Linked DNA regions of Homo sapiens: regions 2, 3 and 4 are each linked to region 1. Evidence: promoter capture Hi-C in 16 types of primary human blood cells and fetal thymus (Javierre and others, 2016). All regions are on one chromosome and are shown on one strand. The core of a region is centred on a gene start or on the middle of the fragment in contact, and the rest is flanking DNA. Distances in the headings are between cores, read along the strand shown.

Region 1 (3,798 bases), core at 1-2,500:
AAATGACCAACTCCAGACTCCGGGTCTCAGCTTCCCTCGTACGACACCAGGCATTATTGATGGGGGCACAAGACCCTCCAAAAACCACGATTACCAAACTTCTGTGTCCAAGGAGAATCATGCCCTTCCAGGTTCCTGAGAGACCAGACTTCAGATTCCCGGGAGAATGCCAGGGGTCTCGCCTTCGCCAACCCCTACCCCAAGTCACTTTAGGTGGAAGCGTTTGGGGCTGATGCTCCGGAAGCTGAACCAGGAGGAGCTAATAGCTTCAGGACCCTGTGATGTCCCCATCGCCACCAACAGGTGGGATCCTCCTGAAAACCAGACGATTTGCGGATCCTGTTGCTCCCAATAACAGGCAACTTTCAGAGTACGGTGACGGGGCTCCTGGAGCCCTGTCACCAGAAACGGGAAATAAGGCGTGGGGGGCGAGGCTTTCGTGTCCCTTGAGAGGCTGGTGGCTTTGGGGTCCGGCAGAGGCGGGTGGGGGTCCTGCGGCTTTGACGGAGGTCGCGCCCCCAGGTCGCCGAGGAGCGGCCCCCCACCCGCCGCGGTCGCGACCCGTCAGCCCAGATCTTGCAAGGAGCCCGCGACTCCTCCCTCGCGGCCCGGCCCGCGCTCACCGCCTTCTCCAGGTGGCTGCGCGCCTGCTCGCTGTTCTTGGTGTGGTGATAGAGAACGGAGCCCAGCTGCAGGTGTGTACGGGCCTCGATGCGCTGCGGCGGCTTGAAGGGGAACACGGCCTGCAGGCAGTGCACGCACAGGCGGATTTTGGGCGGGCTGGAAGTGCGGAAGTGCTCAGCGAAGCCCAGAAGCGCCAGGTACCACGAGTCGGCCGCCTCGGCCTGCGCAGCCTGGGCCGCCGCCGCCTGGGCCGCTGCCGCCGCCTGAGCCGCCATTTTGGCCTCCACAACAACAAGCCGCCGCCACAGGGAGGCGGAAGCAGGCGCGCGAGACGGGGCCGGGCTCTCCTCGCGGCTTCCGCGAGATCTGCCGCCCAAAGCATCCTGGAACATGTAGTTTGTATTTGGGATGACTGCCGCTCCGGGAAGGTGTAAAAGGGCGACGCCGTTTGGTTATCGTGACTGGGACTTAGGCATCGCTGATAGGCTGAGGCTTCCGTTTCTGGAGGTTAAAAAAAAAAAAACCCAGTCGTTCACGCAGTAATAGGGCGAGTCTGACCGAGGCGGACTACATCTCCCATCAGGCGATGCACACTATAACAGGGCCCCTTAAGGGGCGCCGGAGCATTGTGGGATTGGATGAGTCTCAAGATGGACAACCGGGATGTTGCAGGTAACAGCCCCCGCCTCCTCTCAGGCGGCCGCCTGGGTCCCTGGGGCTAGGTGTCTCCCCTGACTCCTCGGGTCCGTCCTGCTGCGACCCGTGGATCCCTCGCTTCAGCCCCGGGGCAGCCCACAGCGTCGGCTTCTGCACCTCTTGGTTTCTCGAGACCCCAGACCCAGGTTGCTGGCCGCCCCCGCTTGGTTTGCTGAGGACGCACGGATCTCCGTAGAGGCCGCCACCCGGCTCGGCCCTGCGTCCCGTTTCCGAAACAACCGCCTTCAGGGCTGCTCCAACCTCCGTTCCCCAATACGGCGACAACCTTGGGCTGTCCCTGCACCCCTCTTTTCGTCGCAGCTGGCCTCTGGCCTGTGTCCCGCTTTCTGGAAAAGCTGCTTTTCCGAAGTGCTTTGAGGCTCCCTTGACACACTTTCCCGCGTCTTTTGACCCTCACTTTGCTGCAAGCCTTGGCCTTTCTGCTTCCCCAGAATAGAATGCATTTACCCATCAGCAGATACTTAGGGCGTGCTCACTGTGTGCCAAGCAGTGTGCTGGGCGCTACGCATGCAGCGGTGACCGAAACAGGGCCCTGCCTTCCTGGAGGTTGCTTTCTACTGGGGTGTCAGTGCATTAATGAGAAAATATTTACAAAAACTTACGTATGATGTGAGGTTACGTATGATATGATCAGAGTGGAGGCTTCTGATATTGGGTAGTCAGGAAAGACCTTTTCTTTCTTTCTTTCTTTTTTTTTTTTTTTTTTTTTTTGAGACAGGGTCTCACTTTGTCGCCCAGGCTGTAGTGCAGTGGCTCACTGTGGCTCCCTGGGTTCAGGTGATCCTCCCACCTCAGCCTCCCTAGTAGCTGAGACCACAGATGCGCGCCACCACACAGCGAATTTGTGTGTTTTTTGTGTTGCCACGTTTCCCATGCAGGTCTGGAATTCCTAGGCTCAAGCGATCCTCCCATCTCAGCCTCTTAAAGTGCTGGGGTTACGTAAAGGTGTGAGCCACCACACCTGGCCCAGGGAAAGGCCTTTTCAAGCAGAGGACATTTGAGTTAAGACAATGAATGCCAGCTATGGGAATCCCTGGAGGGTGGAGCCTTCCACACAGAGGGGGGCCAGTAAATGCAGAGGCCCTGGTAGGATGGGCTTGTCCTTTTGAAGAATGTCAAGGATGAAGCAGAAGGGAGGGGAACCATCTGGCGGGGCCTTGAAAATGGCCTTTTAGAATTCTTTTTTTCTTTTTGTTGAAGCGGAGTTTCGCTCTGTCGCCCAGGCTGGAGTGCAGTGGCACGATGTCGGCTGACTGCAACCTCTACCTCCCGGGTTCAAGCCATTCTTCTGCCTCAGCCTCCTGAGTAGCTGGGATTACAGGCGCCGGCCACCGCACCTGGCCAGTGTTTTTGTGTATTTTTAGTAGAGACGGGGTATCACCATGTTGGCCAGGCTGGTCTCGATCTCCTGACCTCAAGTGATCTGCCTGCTTCAGCCTCCCAGGTGCTGGGATTACAGGTGTGAGTCACCATGCCCGGCTCAGACTTTTAAAATTTGGATTTTATTCTGAGTCCCATGGGGAACCTCTGAGGTGTCTTCCCTGTCTCCATACTATCACCCTAGTCTGAAGACATCATTGTCTGTTGCTTGGAGCCAGTGAGCCTCCCTGGTCTTGTTGCCTGTGGATTCTCTGGCCAGAATGATTACCTAGTAGCCAGGATGAAAATAAAACGACCCTGTGGATATTGGCTAGGTGTGGTGATCCATGCCTAAAATCTCAGCATTTTGGGAGGCTTAAATGGGAGGCTCCCTTGAGGACAGGAGTTCAAGATTAGCCTGGGGAACATAGCAAGAACCTGTCTCTACAAAAAATAAAAGAAAATAGCTAGGCCTGGTAGAGTGTGCCTGTAGTCCTAGCCACTCGGGTGGCTGAGGTGGGAGAATCTCTAGAGCCCAGGAGTTTGAGGATGCAGTGAGCTACGATCATGCAACTGCACTCCTGCCTGGGCAACTCAGCGAGACCCTGTCTCAAAAAAACAAAACAAAACAAAAAAAACGGCTGGGTGTGGTGGCTCACGCCTGTAATCCCAGCACTTTGGGAGGCTGAGGTGGGTGGATCACTTGAGGTCAGGAATTCGAGACCAGCCTGGCCAACATGGTGAAGCCCCATCTCTACTAAAAATATGAAAAAATTAGCCAGGCATGGCGGCAGATGCCTGTAGTCCCAGATACTCGGGAGGCTGAGGCAGGAGAATCGCTGGAACTCTGGAGGTGGAGATTGCAGTGAGCCAAGATCGCGCCATTGCACTCCAGCCTGGGGGAAAAGAGCAATACTTCATCTCAAAAAAAAAAAAAAAAAAAAAGAAGGCTGGGTTCGGTGGCTCACGCCTGTAATTCCAGCGCTTTGAGAGGCGTAAATTGGAGGTTCCCTTGAGGACGGGAGTTCGAGACCAGCCTGGACAACATGGCGAAATCCTAACTGTACTAAAAATATAAAAATTAGCCAGGTGTGGTGG
Region 2 (3,798 bases), core at 633-3,132, 290 kb after region 1:
CTACTTAAAAAAAAAAAAAAAAAAGATAAATAAAAAGGGTCCAGCTTGCCTCTGAAGTACCATGCGAGGATTATGGATTACTGCCTCCTTACTTCGAGGATTAAGTGAAATAGAGCAGGTTCTGTGAGCACGCATTTTTTTTTTCTTTGAGACAGTCTCGCTCTGTCCCCCAGTCTGGAGGGCAGTGGCATGATCTCGGCTCACTGCAACCTCTGTCTCCCTGGTTCAAGCAATTCCCATGCCTCAGCCTCCTGAGTATTTGGGATTACAGGCACGTGCCACCATGCCTGGTGAAATTTTTTTTTTTTTTTTTTTGAGACGGAGTCTCACTCTGTTACCCATGCTGGAGTGCAGTGGCATGATCTCGGCCCACTGCAACCTCCGCCTCCTGGGTTCAAGCAATTCTCTTGCCACAGCCTCCCAAGTAGCTGGGATTAAAGGCAGGCACCACCATGCCCGGCTAATTTTTGTATTTTTAGTAGAGACAGGGTTTTGCCATGTTGGCCAGGCTGGTCTCCAACTCCTGACTTTAAATGATCCGCTCACCTCAGCCTCCCAAAGTCCTGGGATTACAGGTGTGAGCCACCACACCCAGCCTGAATTTTTTGTATTTTAGTTTCATCATGTTGCCTAGGCTGGTCTCGAACTCCTGAGCTCAGGTGATCCGCCCACCTCGACCTCCCAAAGTGCCAGGATTACAGGTATGAGCCACCGCGCCCAGCTCCAAGTTGTTGCTCTTAGTGTATTTTTTTCTCTCTCACCATAGGGCAAAATAACATGGCAGCCAGACGAATTACACAGGAGACTTTTGATGCTGTATTACAAGAAAAAGCCAAACGATATCACATGGATGCCAGTGGTGAGGCTGTAAGCGAAACTCTTCAGTTTAAAGCTCAAGGTAAAATAAAGTGTTGTTGTTGTAGTTGTTGTTTTGGTAGGGGTGTATCTTAGGGCCAAGGCAGGAAGATTACAATACCTTGGGCAAATAATACCAGTCCTCTGATCCTTAGTTTCCTTATTTAGGAGGAGGTAAAGGTTTTTATTTTGGTTTGGTTTCTTTTTTGTGATAGGGTCTTACTCTCTCCCCCAGGCTGAAGTGCAGTGGCGCAGTTTTAGCTCACTGCACCCTTGAACTCCTAGGCTCAAGCCATCCTTCCATCTCTGCCTCCCAGAGTGCTGGGATTATAGGCATGAGCCACTGCACTTGGTCAGGGGATAATGTTTTGATCTGTCAGTCATCATTATGTAGTTATCTGGAGCTTCTCACTGGATATCCTCCCCGACCCACCTCAAGACAGTTTTGTTTATTGTTTGTTTGTTTGTTTGTTTGTTTTGAGACGGAGTTTCACTCTTGTCTCCCAGGCTGGAGGGCAATGGAGGGATCTTGGCTCACTGCAACCTCCGCCTCTTGGCTCACTGCAACCTCCGCCTCCTGGGTTCAAGCGATTCTCCTGCCTCAGCCTCCTGAGTAGCTGGGATTACGGGCATGCACCACCACGCCCAGCTAATTTTTCTATTTGTAGTAGAGATGAGGTTTTACCATGTTGGCCAGGCTGGTCTCGAACTCCCGACCTCAGGTGATCCACTTGCCTTGGCCTCCCAAGATGCTGGGATTACAGGCATGAGCCACCGAGCCCAGCCCAGTTTTGTTTTTTGGTGTTTTTTATGTTTTTGTTTTTTTTGTTTTTTGTTTTTTTTAATAGATATGGAGTCTTGCTATGTTTTCAGGCTGGTCTGCAACTCCTGGGCTCAAGTGATCCTCCCACCTCTGCCTTCAGCATGTTGCGATTACAGGCGTGAGCCACTGCTCCCAGCCCCAAGACAGGTTCTTGGATCCATTTCCTGGCTCCATCCCTGTCACCGCTGCCCAGGTTTAAGCTCTACTAGTTCTTTTTTTTTTTTATTTGAGACAGAGTCTTGTACTGTCGCCCAGGCTGGAGTGCAGTGACGTGATTTTGGCTCACTGCGGCCTGTGCCTCCTGGATTCAAGCGATTCTCCTGCCTCAGCCTCCCGAGTAGCTGAGATTACAGGTGCCTGCCACCATGCCCGGCTAATTTTTTTGTATTTATTTTAGTAAAGATGGGGTTTCACTATGTTGGTCAGGCTGGTTTTGAACTCCTGACCTTGTGATCTGCCCGCCTCGGCCTCCCAGAGTGCTGGGAGGATCACAAGGTCAGGAGATCGAGACCATCCTGTGAATGGTGAAACCCCGTCTTTACTAAAAATCAAAAAAAAAAAAAAATTAGCCAGGTGTGGTTGTGGGTGCCTGTGGTCCCAGCTACTTGGGAGGCTGAGGCGGGATAATGCCGTGAACCCGGGAGGTGGAGCCTGCAGTGAGCCAAGATTGCGCTACTGCACTCCAGCCTGGGCGACAGAGCGAGACTCCATCTCAAAAAAAAAAAAAGAAAAAAAATGGCCGGGCGCAGTGGCTCAAGCCTGTAATCCTAGCACTTTGGGAGGCCGAGGCGGGCGGATCACAAGGTCAGGAGATCGAGACCATCCTGGCTAACACGGTGAAACCCTGTCTCTACTAAAAATATTAGCCGGGCGTGGTGGCGGGCGCCTGTAGTCCCAGCTACTCAGGAGGCTGAGGCAGGAGAATGGCGTGAACCCAGGAGGCGGAGGTTGCAGCGAGCCAAGGTTGTGCCACTGCACTCCAGCCTGGGTGACAGAGCAAGACTCCGTCTCAAAAAAAAAAAAATTTATCTGGGCATGGTGGCATGCGCCTATGGCCCTGGCTACTTGGGAGGCTGAGGCAGGAAGTTCGCTTGTGCCCAGGAAGTCGAGGCTGCAGTAAGCTGTGTTTGTGCCATTATACTCCAGCCTGGGCCAAAGAGTGAGACCCTGTCTCAAAAAAAGACGGCCAGGTGCAGTGGCTTACACATGTAATCTCAGCACTTTGGGAGGCCAAGGTGGGCAGATCACCTGAGGTCAGGAGTTTGAGACCAGTCTGGCCAACATGGTGAAACCCCGTGTCTACTAAAAATACAAAAATGTGGCAGGCCCCTATAATCCCAGCTACCCAGGAGGCTGAGACAGAAGAATAGCTTGAACCCAGGAGGTGGAGGTTGCAGTGAGCCGAGATCGCACCACTGCGCTCCAGCGTGGGTGACAGAACGAGACTCCGTCTCAAAAAAAAAAGACAGATTAGGGGGCCGTGGGTGGGAGAGGACTAGAAACCTAGCAGTATGCTAGGTGATTCTGGAACATTTCTGTGTTGCAAAGCAGTCTATCGTTTAGCCTTTCTCTGTTTCTCTGCTCCACTCTGAACTTTTCATCTCCTCATAAAGGGTATGAGAAAATTCTCTTGAGTAGAATCCAGCCATCACTCTCTGTCACTAATGTTCCCTCCCTAATCATGCCATCAATACCAATCATCAATACCTGGGTTATCACAGTGGATTTCTTGCAGGAACATCCACGTCTGTGCTCATCTCCTTTAATCTGTTCCCTGTGCAGCAGCCAGTGAGATCATCCCTCTGCTTAGAACTCTTCACTAGCCTTCTGTCTCTCCCAGAGTAAATTCCAGAGTACCACTGAGGGCCCGACTTGGATCTGGTACTCCTTCTCCATTTGTGTCTCTTATATTAGTGGTTCCCTAACTTTGTAGCACGTTAGCGTCACCTGGGGGCCTTTTAAAAACCCTGATGCCCAGGTCATCCCCTTATTTAATTAAGTAAGAATGTCTGGGGAGGTGGTCCCTGGGGCTCCAGTAGCAGAGTTTGGGAGCTGCCTTCCTACCACTTGGCCTTTCATTCCCTGTGTTCCCTTCTGTCTACATTGGCCCCCTACTGGTC
Region 3 (3,798 bases), core at 408-2,907, 300 kb before region 1:
CATAGGTGTCAGCCACTGCACCCAGCCTGAAGGCCACTACTGTTCAGGCCTCCTGGGCAGTGCTGTGCTTGTGGGTGACCTTTTGAACAGGCACTGGTCTCCGTGGCTCCCATGCAATCTATTACTTTCTGTCATTGGAGCCAAGTGTCGGTTTCCTTCATCAGAGAGCTTTCCCTATTGTCCAGACACTCGGTCAATGTCTTTCATTTTTCACTCCCTGCCGTCCCCTTTGGAGTCTCCCGACGCTCTCCAATCCAGCCATACCAGATGGTGTTTGAATTTCCTCCCCAGCAGCAATGGAGAGAACGTGGGCCCCACCCTGGAAGGGCTCCCAGCCAGCAGGCTGAGGACCTTTTACTGAGCCCACATCTGGAGACTGTCCTCATAGCAAATAGGCTCCAGGAGGTTCTGTGACTTTGGAGAAGAGATTCATGTCCAGGCCATTACTTTTTTTTTTTTTTTTTTTTTTTGAGACCTGGTCTCCGTCAACCAGGCTGCAGTGCAGTGGTGCAATCATGGCTCACTGCAGCCTCAAATTCCCAGGCCCAAGTGATCCTCCCACTTCAGCCTCTCAAGTCCCAAATAGCTGGGACCACAGGCGTGCACCACCACGGGGTCTCACTATGTTGCCCAAGCTGGTCTCAAACTCCCGTGCTCAAGTGATCCTCCCGCCTCTGCCGCCCAAAGTGCTAGGATTACAGGCATGAGCCACCGCCCAGTTCCTTTTCTTGTGCACTAGGAGCCTTCGATGCTGTGTCCTAAGGACTAGAAACAAAGATGTGAGGATTCGCTCTGATTTGGGGTACACTGCAGGGGAGTCTCTCAGTAAACATCCTTCCTTCATTCGGTAACCACGTGGTAGCATTTTCTATGCCCAGAACTGTAATCTGCGAAGATGAATAAACAAGCGAGGTCACTCTTCAGCTGGACCTTGAAAGGTGACTGGAATTGATTTCTGCAGTGGAGAAAAGCGCTGCGTTCTGACCTCCTCGTTGCCATCAACCACGCACGCCTGCGCCCCGCCTTAGCCAGGTGAACGGGGCGTGGAAAGCTCTAGAGGAAGAGCCAGGGGCCCCAGTGGCCCACCTGATGGGGCTGAGGATGCAGGGAGCATTAGGGGGACTGAGCAGGGGTCTGGGGCTTGGGGCTTCTGGAAATGAATGGGGGCTGTCGATCAAGCTATAAGAGGTGTGGGGTTCTGAGGAGGAGGGGGTGGCTTGGAGGAAGAGTTGGGGTGCTCTGGGGAGTGAGGGTCTCTGAGGACCGAGGGCTTTGAGGAGAAGGGGGCCCTGAGGAGGAGCAGGAACTCTGAGGAGATGCGAGTGGGGCTGAAGGAGGCGTGCACCGCGCGAGATGTGAGGGATGGGGGCCTCTGGCTGGAGCGGAGCCAGCGCTGCCCTCTCTCAAGGGGAAGGAGGGCGCTTATGAGAAGTGCCGTTGCCTCGGCAACCCCAAACCCAGTCCAAGCCCGGAGAGGGGGAAGTTCGGGGCGAGTCCCGGGGGCGGTGCGTGGCGCCGGTTGGCTGACGGAGATGAAGGGGCGTGTCTGTAGGCGGTGCAATACACGGGTTGGCTGGCGATAGCGGCGGTGGGCGTGGCTTAGGCGCGAGCGAGAGCGGGCGCGGCGCTCAGGCAGCGGCGGTTGGCTGCGGCGCCAGTGGTAGTGCTCCAGGCTCGACGGCACCCTCACAGCGCCCGCCCGGCCCTGCCGCTCATGGCCGCCCCGCCGCGCCCCGCGCCATCGCCCCCCGCCCCGCGGCGCCTCGACACGAGCGACGTCCTGCAGCAGATCATGGCCATCACCGACCAGAGCCTGGACGAGGCACAGGCCAGGTGCTGCCCGCGGGCTCGGCAGGGGCCACGCAGGGTCGTGGCAGTGAGGTTGGCGGGCTGAGGGGACGGGGCGTGGAGGCCAGACTGACGAGGGGCGCTTGAGGAGGGCTGGAGGGGGGTCCCGAGGACGAAGGGATGTATGGGGTTCAAACGGAACGGGCTGGATAGGCCTTATGGGGCCGAGCAGTGGCGTGAAGGATTTTCAGCAGCTCATCTTGGGGCGAGAAGGTTGGGTTTAGGGGTTTAGGGAGTAGGGCTGAGAAATGGGCACGTACGGGACTTTTGACGAGTGAATGACTAAATGGGTACGTTAATGGGACTCCTGCGGCTGGAAGTTTTTTTGTTGTTGTTTGACACGGTCTTGCTCTGTCGCCCAGGCTGGAGTGCAGTGGCGTGATCATGGCTCACTGCAGCATCCACCTCCCCGGCTCAGTTGATTCTCCTGCCTCAGCCTCCCGAGTAGCTGGGACCACAGGCGCACGTGCAACCACGCCCGGCTGATTTTTTTGTATATTTTGTAGAGACAGGGGTCTCGCTATAGTTGCTTAAACTCCTGGGTTCAAGCACTCATTCCGTCTCGGCCTCCCTAAGTGCTGGGATTACAGGCGCGAGCCACCGAGCCCGGCCTGTGGGTGGGAAGTTTCCAGGGCAGATGATGGAGAGTGAGTGGCTGGGAATGGGACTCAGGAATGTCTGCAGGAGACTGAAGAACTGAACTGGGGTAACTTGGTGTGGGAACCATCGAGAACTTTTGGGAAAAGGGTTAGTAGAGGAGTGGGTGGAGATGGAAGACCTATTTTCTTTTTAATGAATTCAGCAAATTTTTATTGAATCCTTACAATAACTGGATAGGGAACCGGGTGCTGACATAGTCCCTGCTCTCGAGTACATGATTTAGGGGAGGGAATGTAAATAGCAAAAAATAAGGACTGGGTGGAGTGGCTCACATCTCTAATCACAGCACTTTAGGAGGCTGAGGCAGGAGGATTGCTTGAGCTCAGGAGTTCGAGACCAACCTGGACAATGTAGTAAGACCTCGTCTCTACTAAAAATAAAATTAAAAAATTAGTTAGGTGTGATGATGCAAGCCTGTAGTCCCAGCTACTTAGGAGGCTGAGGCTGCAGTGAGCCGAATCAAGCCATTGCACTCCAGCCTGGGTGACAGAGCTAGACCCTGTCTCAAACAAAAGCAAAAAAGTATAAGCCAGGCATGGTAGCATGGGTAGGTAATCCCAGCTGCCTCCCAGTGGGAGGATCACTTGAGTCCAGCAGTTTGAGACCAGCCTGGGCAACATAGTGAGACCATCCTGTACCAATCTGAGAAAAGAAAAAAATAAAATAAATGGCAATAAAAGCTGTAGGGATAGGGGTTGCATGCTATAGGAAGCCAGGTGGAGAAGAACATCTTTGGAGAGGACAGCACCTTCAGAGGCCCTGAGGTGGGAAAGAGGATGTAAAAAGCGGAGTCTGGCTGGGAAGAGAAAGTTCCTAGCCAGGGAGGGAAAGAGTTGAGTTTAAAGGAAGGCTGGGGCCAGGTGCGGTGGCTCACGCCTGTAATCCCAGCACTTTGGGAGGCCAAGGCAGGTGAATCACGAGGTCAGGAGTTCAATACCAGCCTGGCCAACATGGTGAAACCCAGTCTCTACCAAAAATACAAAAATTAGCTGGGTGTAGTGGTGCACACCTATAATCCCAACTACTTGGGAGGCTGAGGCAGGAGAATCACTGGAACCTGGGAGGCGGAGGCTGCAGTGAGCCGAGATCACACCACTGCACTCCAGCCTGGGCGACAGAGCGAGATTCCGTCTGAACAAAAAATAATAATAATAATAAAGGGAGACTGGAACCCAATTACATGGGGCCTACGAATCTCAGTAAAGAGTTTTGTTTGTTCAGCCAGGCACAGTGGCTGACACCTGTAATCCCTGCACTTTGGGAGGCCAAGGTGGGCAGATCACCTGAGGT
Region 4 (3,798 bases), core at 663-3,162, 270 kb after region 1:
CTGGGGATACACTCAAGAGAACTGAAAGCACAGTCTCAAAGAGATACCTGTACACCCATGTTCATAGCAGCATGATTCATCAGAGCCAAGAGGTTGGAGGTTGCAGGGAGCTGAGCTCGTGCCATTGCACTCCAGCCTGGGCGACAGAGAGAGACTCTGTCTCCAAAAAGAAAAACAAACAAACAAAAAAACACTACAATGACAACAAAGAAATTCAGGCACATAGTATGCTATGGATATACCTTGAGGACATTACGCTAAGTGAAATAAGACAGTCACCAAAAGACAAATACTGTGATTCCATTTATTTAAAAAAAATTTTTTTTTTTAGATGGAGTCTTCCTCTGTCACCCAGGCTGGAGTGGAGTGGTACCATCTCAGCTCACTGCAACCTCCACCTCCTGGGTTCAAACAATCCTCCCGCTTCAGCCTCCTGAGCAGCTGGGACTACAGGCATGTGCCACCACGCCCGGATAATTTTTGTATTTTTAGTGGAGACAGGGTTTCACCATGTTGGCCAGGCTGGTCTCTAACTCCTGACCTCAAAGTGATCTGCCCACCTCAGCCTCCCAAAATGCTGGGATTACAGGCATAAGCCAGGGTGGCCAGCCTGTGATTCCATTTATATGAGGTCCTGGAGTAGTCAAATTTGCAGCAACAGAAGGTAGAATGATGGTTGCTAGAGGCTGAGGGGAAGAGGAACATGGAGTTTGTTTCAGTATCGCAAGTCATGGATAGTCATGATGGTTGCACAACATTATGAATGTACTTAATGACACTGAACTCTACATTTAAAAATGGTTACAATGGTAAATGTTTTTATGCACATTTTACATAACAAACAGCGGTGTAGCACTTCAGCAGAAACCCTGTAAGAAACTTGAAAAGCTCCTGACAGAAATGCCTTTGAGGATGCACAGTATTGGAGTTAGAACTACCAAGATTTCACAAGGAATTACTAAGTTAGCAAGGATGTGTAAACTAAAAATAAAATTCTTGGCCGGGCATGGTGGCTCATGCCTGTAATCTCTTCACTTTGGGAGGCCAAGGCAGGTGTATCGCTTTGAGCTCAGGAGTTCAAGACCAGCCTGGGCAACGTGGTAAAACCCTGTCTCTAAAAAAAATACAAAAATTAGCCAGATGTTGGTGGCTCACACCATGTAGTCAGCTACATGGGAGGCTGAGGCTGAAGAATTGCTTGAGCCCGGGAAGCAGAGGTTTCAGTGAGCTAAGATCACACCACTGCACTCTAGCTGGGGAGACCCTGTCTCAAAAAAAAAAAAAAAAAAAAATCTAAGTCCTCATCCATACTAAGGACCCCTCCTCTTGGCCAAAGGTATTCCAAAGGTAACCTGAAAAACTACTTCAGGTCATGATGGGAAGTGGCGGTCAAATATGTCTCATTTTATCTTCCTGCCTTTGGAAGTCAGACATAACTGATCATCGTAAGACTTTTTTGTAGCAATAAGACACCAAGTTCCAGCCTAACTAATACAGTATGGAAAGAAATCAAAGTATTTTACCCTAAAATATATTTCTCTGACATATTTTGAAATGGCCCTGCAAAGCTATCTCTTGTGGGGAAAAGCTACATTCTACAGAGATTCCCTTTCCAGGTCTTTTCCCTGATTCAGGAGAGAATTAACTAAGAGTCTGGCACCTTTTTAAGTCTGATAAGAAATATTTACAATCTATTTTCTCTGAAGCCTGCTACCTGGAGGCTTCCTTGATAAACCCTTGATCTCCACAACCCGTCTTAAGCAAAATATTCCTTTCTATTGATTCTAGGTCTTTAGATAACTCTTTCAATCAGAAAATCTTTTTTTTTTTTTTCTGAGTCTCATTCTGTTGCCCAGGCTGGAGTACAGTGGCATGATCTCGGCTTACTGCAACCTCCGCCTCCTGGATTCAAGTGATTCTCCCGCCTTAGCCTCCCAAGTAGCTGGGATTATAAGCACCCACTACCATGCCCAGCTAATTTTTGTTTTTTGTTTTTTGTTTTTTTGAGATGCAATTTCGCTCTTGTTACCAAGGCTGGAGTGCAATGGTGCAATCTTGGCTCACTGCAACCTCTGCCTCCCGGGTTCAAGCAATTCTCCTACCTCAGCCTCCTGAGTAGCTGGAGTTACAGGCACCTGCCACCATGCCCGGTTAATTTTTGTATTTTTAGTAGAGACGGGGTTTCATCATGTTGGCCAGGCTGGTCTCGAACACCTGACCTCAGGTGATCCACCTGCCTGGGCTCCCAAAGTGCTGGGATTACAGGTGTGAGCCACCACACGTGGCCTAATTTTTGTATTTTTTGTAGAGATGGGTTTTGCCATGTTGGCCAGGCTGGTCCCAAACTCCTCAGCTCGATGCAATCCGACCACCTCAGCCTCCCAAAATGCTGAAATTACAGACGTGAGCCACAGCACCTGGCCAGAAAAATCTTTAAATGTGTCTATGACCTGGAAGCCCCGGCTTTCAGCTGCCCTACTTTTCCAGACCACACCAATGTACGTCTCACATGTATTGATTGATATCTCATGTCTCCCTAAAACGTATAAAACCAAGCTGTAGCCCGACCACCTTGGACACATGTTCTCAGGAGCTCCCGAGGCTGTGTCATGGGCCTTTGGTCACTCATATTTGGTTCCGAATAAATCTCTTGAAATATTTTATAGAGTATTTTCATTGACAGATGGTTGCTAAAATGCAGGTGGCAGAGCCAGCTGTGTTCTACCTATGACAATTTTCTGTGGCGCTCACCACCTTGCTCATGGAGGGGGGCTTTACCCATTGACTCCTGGAGTCATTCAGTCTCTGTGACTAATGCCTTTCATTCTACAACTTCCCACATATAAATGTGGCCTGGCTGGCTCAGTTTTTCCCTGGACAGTCTCCAGACATTATTTTCCTTCTGTTTCTACAAGCCTGTTTGCAACAAATCTTATGACACAAACAGATTAATTTCAACGACCATCACAATGTTGAATTTTTTTCTCCCTCAACAGATAAGCATTTTTTACACATCTAAGCCAAGATGCACAAAGGTCAATTATGCTGCAGGGCATTTGAGAAGGGGGTTGGTTCAGTTGCGAACTGACCGCTGAGATGCAAACCCCAGTGTCTGGTGGGAGGGACAAGGCAGGGACTTTCAGATTTTACTATAAATGCTTGAGTATTGCTTGAATCCTTTATGCTAAGAATGTATTTCCACTCTTCCTTAATGAAAAATAAAATTTAAAATTAGCCAGGCATGGTGGCAGGTACCTGTAATCCCAGCTACTCAGGAGGCTGAGACAGGAGCATCACTTGAACCTGGGAGGTGGAGGTTGCAATGAGCCGAGATCCTGCCATTGCACTCTAGCATGGGTGACAGAGTGAGAGTTTGTGTCAAAAAAAAAAAAAAAAGAAATAGAAAAAGAAAAAAAAAAAAAAACAGGTGAGCATGTTGGCTCACACCTGTAATCCTGGCATGTTGGCAGGGCAAAGTGGGAGGGTCACTTGAGGGCAGGTGTTCAAGATCATCCTGGGCAATATAGCAAGATCCCATCTCTACAAAACAAAAAATAGGCTGGGCATAGTGGCTCATGCCTATAACCCCAACACTTTGGGAGGCCGAGGCAGGCAGATCACTTGAGGTCAGGAGTTCAAGACCAGCCTGTCCAATGTGGTGAAATCCCATCTCTACTAAAAATACAAAAATCCGCTGGGCGTGGTGGTGCACGCCTGTAATCCCAGCTACTCGGGAGGCTGAGGCAGGAAAATTGCATGAACCTGGGAGAAGGAAGCTGCAGTGAGCTGAGGAAGGGC

What was found. Contacts are between HindIII fragments. The CHiCAGO score rates a contact against its expected background, and 5 or more counts as called.
Region 2: a contact is called between a fragment that was not itself captured here and the fragment with the promoter of SUGP1 in region 1, in 1 of 17 cell types (M2 macrophages). The highest score is 5.8, in M2 macrophages.
Region 3: a contact is called between the fragment with the promoter of PBX4 here and the fragment with the promoter of SUGP1 in region 1, in 2 of 17 cell types (neutrophils and M1 macrophages). The highest score is 8.4, in neutrophils.
Region 4: a fragment that was not itself captured here is called in contact with the fragment with the promoter of SUGP1 in region 1 in 1 of 17 cell types (M1 macrophages); the score reaches 5.6 in M1 macrophages.

What each region holds. Positions count from the first base shown.
Region 1 is chr19:19,317,961-19,321,758 of GRCh38, reverse strand. SUGP1 (SURP and G-patch domain containing 1) reads left to right here and starts at 1,250. Exons shown (of 14, transcript NM_172231.4): 1 at 1,250-1,296. The coding sequence starts at 1,263. MAU2 (MAU2 sister chromatid cohesion factor) reads right to left here and starts at 930. Exons shown (of 19, transcript NM_015329.4): 1 at 624-930. The coding sequence starts at 899. RefSeq lists a silencer at 550-771 and enhancers at 143-1,114, 823-1,312, 1,333-1,382. The HindIII fragment of the contact is 18,112 bases long and covers 1-3,798 here.
Region 2 is chr19:19,028,051-19,031,848 of GRCh38, reverse strand. SUGP2 (SURP and G-patch domain containing 2) reads left to right here. Exons shown (of 11, transcript NM_001017392.5): 2 at 767-898. The coding sequence starts at 778. Among named protein-coding and RNA genes, the nearest start is that of SUGP2, 3.6 kb to the left of the region's middle. The HindIII fragment of the contact is 6,110 bases long and covers 1-3,798 here.
Region 3 is chr19:19,616,546-19,620,343 of GRCh38, reverse strand. It overlaps PBX4 (PBX homeobox 4), which reads left to right and starts at 1,657. Exons shown (of 8, transcript NM_025245.3): 1 at 1,657-1,833. The coding sequence starts at 1,715. RefSeq lists a silencer at 1,666-1,875. The HindIII fragment of the contact is 7,939 bases long and covers 1-3,798 here.
Region 4 is chr19:19,046,554-19,050,351 of GRCh38, reverse strand. The region is part of intron 4 of ARMC6 (armadillo repeat containing 6); the gene reads right to left. Among named protein-coding and RNA genes, the nearest start is that of ARMC6, 15 kb to the right of the region's middle. The HindIII fragment of the contact is 8,485 bases long and covers 1-3,798 here.